Regions from separate parts of the Homo sapiens genome. Here region 1 is linked to region 2. Evidence: promoter capture Hi-C in 16 types of primary human blood cells and fetal thymus (Javierre and others, 2016). All regions are on one chromosome and are shown on one strand. The core of a region is centred on a gene start or on the middle of the fragment in contact, and the rest is flanking DNA. Distances in the headings are between cores, read along the strand shown.

Region 1 (2,898 bases), core at 293-2,792, 600 kb after region 2:
CAGAGTTATGTCCCCAAGTCAGCAGGAACTCCAGGAAGGCTTTGGGAAAAGACCAGACCTTTCCTCCTTACAGGAACTAACTCAGAAGAAAAATAATGTGTTGGTAAGAGTTGCCCAAAGTTGGGGGAGCCGGGAGACGGATGAATTGAGCAAATCTCTTGCTAGATGTGTGCCCCATGCAGGTTTTCAGAGTCTCTAGGCCTCTTTTCTCACCTGGATAACAGGAACTGTGCCACGTGGGGATTAAATGAGCCAAAGCTTGAGGAGGTGTTGGTAATAGTGCTACCTGAGAGTGGGTGCACAGTCTACGTGTGAGCCTTCTTTCTTCTCTTATTCTTTTTCTCTATTTTTGTTTTTACTTTTGTCATAATTATCTATGGACGTAGTTTAAAAGACAAATTATTCTTTTGCTATGACAAGAACCAGTTTCCTACCCTGTTCCCACTGTTTCTTTTTCCCCAGAGGCAATCACTCTCAACTCTTTTTACAGTAATTATTCTGGTATTTACTTTCATATTTCGAAATAACTTGTTTGTGTTGATACTTTTTGTATTTTCCATTTCAAGACTTACCAATGGACTTTCTACTGTGAAAAATAAGAGTCTGGTCTCTTTGACATACACCTCTCCTATCCTCTTTGCCACCCCTCTCTCTCTCTCTCACACACACACACACACACACACACACACACACACTTCCTGTGCTGCCCCCCATCTTCCCATTCTGATTTTGTTGTAATTTTGGTTAGAGCCATTTTCAGGATTCACATTTATTATAGTGTAAACACTATCGACAGCTGAGACATAAATTATATCACAGTTACTTTTTCTCTTCCAAACAGTATTTTCTCCTCTGGAATTAATCATTATCATTTTGTTCTATTTTTTTTAATGTTTTGTAGACTTCATTTTATCTGCCAAAACACTAATTCAGCTGTGTAAATCTCCTCTCAGTGTGTTCAGCCCTAATTGAGAATCTAGCATTTCTGTCTTTTTAGAAAAATTCCTTCTAGGCCCCTCTGACCAGCTCCTCTTTGGCTGCCTGTCTCCGGGCTCACTGCACAGTTGGCCACAGGGATCTTCTTTCGCCTTTGTTCTTTGTCTCTCTTGTGTTACATCTGTTTTCTGGATGCCAAGTCTTTCTCTTTCTTCGTTTACACCCTCATTTTGGGTGGGGCGCTTCTTCTAGTAGCTCCTGCAAGTGGGGGCTGTTGAGGCAAATACCTAAAAATATTCTTACTCTACCCTCACACTTGATTGATAATTTTGCTGGACATAGAATTTGAGTTTGAAAATAATCTGCCCTCAAAATTTTGAAGGCATTCCTGCACTGCCTCCTAGCTACTGTGTGCCTGGCAAAGTCTAATGCCCTCGCAATGACTGATTCTTTCTATGTAACCTGTTTGTATCTCTGTCATCTTTAAGCATCTTCTTCTTCCTCCAAATGTTCCAACATTTCATCATCTTGTCTCTTGTTGGGGATCTATTTTCATCAATTGTGCAGGACTCCTGCTGAGTCTTTTTGATCTGAGAATGGATGTCTTTCAGTTCTAGGAACATTTCCTGAGTCATTTTTTGATGACTGTCTTCCCCAGCATTCTCTCTGCTCTGTTTCTGGTGCTTCTATTGGTCAGATGTTGGACCTTGAACTTGTCCTTTGATTTTCTCATCTTTTCTTTCTTGATTTCAATGTCTATATTTTTTTCTCTACTTTCTGACAGAGTTTCTGAATTTCATTTTCCTTTCTAATGAATCTTTTTCTTTCTTAAATTTACACATTCTTGTTTGAAAACTTAACAGATTTTTTTTTTTTAAGACAGAGTCCTGCTCTGTCACCCAGGCTGGAATGCAGTGGCACAATCCTGGCTCACTGCAACCTCCGCATCCCGGGTTGAAGCATTCTCCTGCCTCAGCCTCCCAAGTAGCTGGGACTACAGGCGCGAGCCACCAAGCCCAGCTAATTTGTGTATTTTTAGTAGAGATGGGGTTTCACCACGTTGGCCAGGATGGTCTTGATCTCTTTACCTCCTGATCTGCCCGCCTCAGCCTCCCAAAGTGCTGGGATTACAGGCATGAGCCACCACTCCTGGCCAGCAGATCTTCTTTCCAGAGCAGTTTCAAGTTTCCAGACAAATTGAACAGAAAATCTAGAGCTCCCCCACAGCACCTCTTCCTCCACACACAACTTCCCCAATTAACATCATGCATTAGTGTGGTACGTTTGTCACACCTGATAAGCTAGTATTGCTATATTATTATTAACTAGAGCCTCTAGTTTACATAAGGGCTCAGTCTTTGTATTGTGCATTCAATGGGTTGTGACAAATATATGTCATGTATCAACCATTACATACTTCATGCAGAATATTATATTTTCAATCCCCTGAAAAAATGTGTTCTTCCTACTTATCCCTTCCTTCCTCTGACCCCCAAACTTTAGGCAGTTGAAATTATTAGCTTCTCTATAGTTTTGTCTTTTCCAGAATGCCATATTTTGGAATTATATTGTATGTAGCCTGTTCACATTGGCCTCTTTCACTTAGTAATATACATTTACGGTTCCTTCATGTTTTTTCCATAGCTTGATAATCATTTCTTTTTATCACTGAATAATATTCCATTATATGGATATACCACAGTTTGTTTATCAATTCACCTATTGGAGGATAACTCAGTTACTTCCAGTTTTTGGCAATTATGAATAAAGTTGCTGTAAACATTCGTATAAAGGTTTTTGTGTGGACATCAGTTTTCAACTCATTTGGGTAAATACCAAGGAGCTAGATCATATGGTAAGCTCATATGGTTAGCTTTGTAAGAAGCTTCCAGATTGTTCTCCAAAATGGCTATGCCATTTTCCATTCCCACCAGCAATGAATGAGAGTTCCTGTTGCCTCAG
Region 2 (3,232 bases), core at 242-2,741:
TTCCTCCAACTATATTCTAACTAGTCACAGACACTAAATCGTAGAACAGAAATGCACCTTTGAAAATTTTCAGTTCAACACCTCCATTGTACATATGGGGAAATCAGGACATAGGTTGTCAGATTTGACACCAACAAACAACACTGTGGACAAGACAAATCTCCAATCTCCAGGATCTATTGGTATACCCAAATAGCTTCGCCTTCCTTCAAAATTTTACCACCTTATCACTTGACGTTAGGAGTTCGAGGCCAGCCTCACCAATACCCATGTCTACTAAAAACACAAAAAAATAGCTGGGCATAGTGTAATCCCAGCTACAGGTAAAGACATGAGAATCGCTTGAACCTGGGAAGCAGAGGTTGCAGTGAGCCGAGATCGCCCCACTGCACTCCAGCCTGGGTGACAGAGCGAGACTCCGTCTCAAAAAAACACAAAACTACCACCTTAGCCCCCAACCTACTTTTCCACGCATCTTTCTCGTTATCCTTTAAACAGATTATTTCTCAGCCAAACAAACGTCGCTCTTTTTCTAGGTACAGCTTTCTTCTTGCTTCCACACCTATGTCAGAACAGTTATAGCCTCTTTATCCTCCCTTACCACTTAAATCCTACCCATCCTTTAGATTTATCCCCGTTTTCCAAACAATTCCTATTGGCTCAAACATTCTGCTTCGGAAGCCCTATTCTGACTTGGCAGGCCTATGGCAGTCTGTTAACTTGACTTTCCGCTTCGTGAGAGGCTTAGGCTCGGATAACCCGTTAGTAACCATGCAGAGGTGAGGACCCAAAGACAGGAACACTAGAAAGCAGAAACTATCCTAAGAGCCCACCGAATTTCCGCTTACATGAGTAACCGAGACAACCGTCAGATGCGCGTGCGCACAGGCCCCGTTCCCAGAGCTCCCCTCGCCCTACGAGGGCCCGGCGGGCCAAAACAGAGGCCCGCCCCGCCCCACCCCACGCCTCACCGCGAAGTAGCCCAGCCCCAGGACTGTGACCAGAGAGGGCAAGGGTCTTGCTGGACGGAAATAGGCGGTAGCCGCATTGCTGGCCTCCGACTTCACCATCCTCTTGAAAAACCCAGACACAGAGTTGGCTGGGAGCTCCCCAGCCGTCCCCGCCCCCATATAAGAAAAGCCTGGCTAGCCGGTTTCTCAGGGCCCTGGGCGCCCGCCCAAGACCCTGGCGGACCAGTATGCTTGCTCTCATTGCGGAGTCTGGTCCCCTCCCCTCCGCTCCTAGCGCGCGGGAGTCGGGATTGTGCTTGCACGACTTCCCCCGGCCCGCGGCCTGTGAGCCCAGGTCCTGGGGTGAACCGAGCGCTCGCTCGTTCGTCAGACCGTAGCGCTCCAGCGGCTGTCCTTACTGTGTAGTAGCCAAAGCTGAGGGTGATGACTGTGAACCAGAACAGACTGCCTCGCTGAAAGTAGGTCGCGCCGGCTGCCGTAGCCATGGCTGCAACACCTCCCCGGGAGCGCGCTTCAGGACACCGTCGAGCGCGAGCGCGGAGGCAGGGCCGGGGCCGGCCCGCGCTCCCTCGCCATCCCCGCAGGGAGAAGATGGTGCTGGTTGGGAAGTCCCTGAGAGCGAGTCTCCCTGTCTGGCCCCAGTACAGGGGCCTTGGAATCACACCTGGGCTCAGGTCTGGAGGGCTGGTCATCATCTTGTAGGGGAGACACTCCTGTCACTTTTCTGGGTTTAAGATAAAGATGTTCGGGCTGGCGCGGTGGCGTGTCCCTGTAATCTCAGCACGTTGGGAGGCTGAGGTAGAAAGATCCCTTGAGCCCAGGAGTTTGAGACCAGCCCGGGTAACATAGCTAGACTCTGTCTCGAATGAATGAATGAATGAATGAGGTGTTGGAATAAATTCCAGCAATTTGGGAGGCCGAGTCGGGCAGATCACTTGAGGTCAGGAGTTTGAGACCAGCGTGGTCAACATGGTGAAACCCCGTCTGTACTAAAAATACAAAAAATTTGCTGGGCGCGGTGGTGCCTGCCTGTAGTCCCAGCAACTCCAGAGGCTGAGACAAGACTCTCTTGAACCTGAGAGGTGCAGGTTGCAGTGGGCCCAGATCACGCCACTGCACTCCAGCCTGGGCAACACAGCAAGACCCTGTCTCAAAAAAAAAAAAAAAAGATGGTGTTTTACTAAGAGTCTAATTTTTGAAGTTCTCTGTGCTGTGCACCTTGAGAAATAATGCTGTCCTCATTAGTTAAGATGTTTGGAACTATACAGCACCATGGTTATGAGCAGGGACTGTGAAACAGGCTGCCTGGATTTAAGTCCTGGCTCTGTCTCGGCTATTTGTGTAAGCTTAGATTAATTACTTAGCCCGGCTGTGTCTTAGTTTCTGTATCTGTAACATGAGGATATGCCAGTTTTGGGAACCTCAGGGTTTTTAGGGTGGGTTAAATGAGTTGATATCTGTAAAGAAAGCACAGCAGTGTCTGGCCCATAGTGCTTTGTAAGTGTGGGTGATTATCAATACTGCTGAGCCTTTAGCATGTGTGCCAGGCCCTGTGCGAACTGTTGTATCATCAATGAGCTGTGGGAGGTATATGCAGCTGAAGTGTCTGATTAAACACTATTTAATCATAGAAATAGAAAATCATAGAAATAGAAAAACTATTTCACCTGGGCCTTAAAAATGGGTTACTGGCCAAGCGCAGTGGCTCAAGCCTATAATCCTGGCACTTTTGGAGGCCGAGGTGGGTGGATCGCTCAGGAGTTCGAGACCACCCTGGAGAACATGGTGAAACCCTGTCTCTACTAAAATACAAAAAATTAGCTGGGGGTGGTGGCGCGTGTCTATAGTCCCAACTACTTGGGAGGCTGAGGCACGAGAATTGCTTGAGCACCGGAGGCGGAGGTTGCAGTGAGCCGAGATCCAATCACTGCACTTCAGCTTGGGCTATAGAGTGAGACTCCGTCAAAAAAAAAAAAAAAAAGTTACTATACTGTAGCTGGTATTTATTGAACACCTACTATGTTCAAGGCATTGTTCTAAGTACTATACAATAATTAACTAATTTAATTCTTAAAACAATCCTAGGCAGTAAACTATTGTCCTTATTTCAAAGAAGAAGAAACAGCACAGGGTCCTGTCATGCCCAAGTGGGTGAGGAATACTGGAAAACAATTGGCAGCTGAGTGTTCCAGTTCCAGAGAGGGCACTCTGGAACCAACCAAGGTTCTCTTTCCTCATTTTTTACGTGAGTATCTTGGGAT

Evidence for each region. The method cuts DNA at HindIII sites, captures the fragments that hold promoters and counts their contacts. A CHiCAGO score of 5 or more calls a contact.
Region 1: a contact is called between a fragment that was not itself captured here and the fragment with the promoter of TMEM254 in region 2, in 3 of 17 cell types (M0 macrophages, M2 macrophages and erythroblasts). The highest score is 7.4, in M0 macrophages.

What each region holds. Positions count from the first base shown.
Region 1 is chr10:79,481,106-79,484,003 of GRCh38, reverse strand. No RefSeq gene overlaps it. Among named protein-coding and RNA genes, the nearest start is that of EIF5AL1, 30 kb to the left of the region's middle. The HindIII fragment of the contact is 2,563 bases long and covers 261-2,823 here.
Region 2 is chr10:80,076,924-80,080,155 of GRCh38, reverse strand. TMEM254 (transmembrane protein 254) reads right to left here and starts at 1,491. Exons shown (of 4, transcript NM_025125.4): 1 at 1,370-1,491. The coding sequence starts at 1,456. TMEM254-AS1 (TMEM254 antisense RNA 1) reads left to right here and starts at 963. Exons shown (of 4, transcript NR_027432.1): 1 at 963-1,429. The HindIII fragment of the contact is 2,319 bases long and covers 1-2,319 here.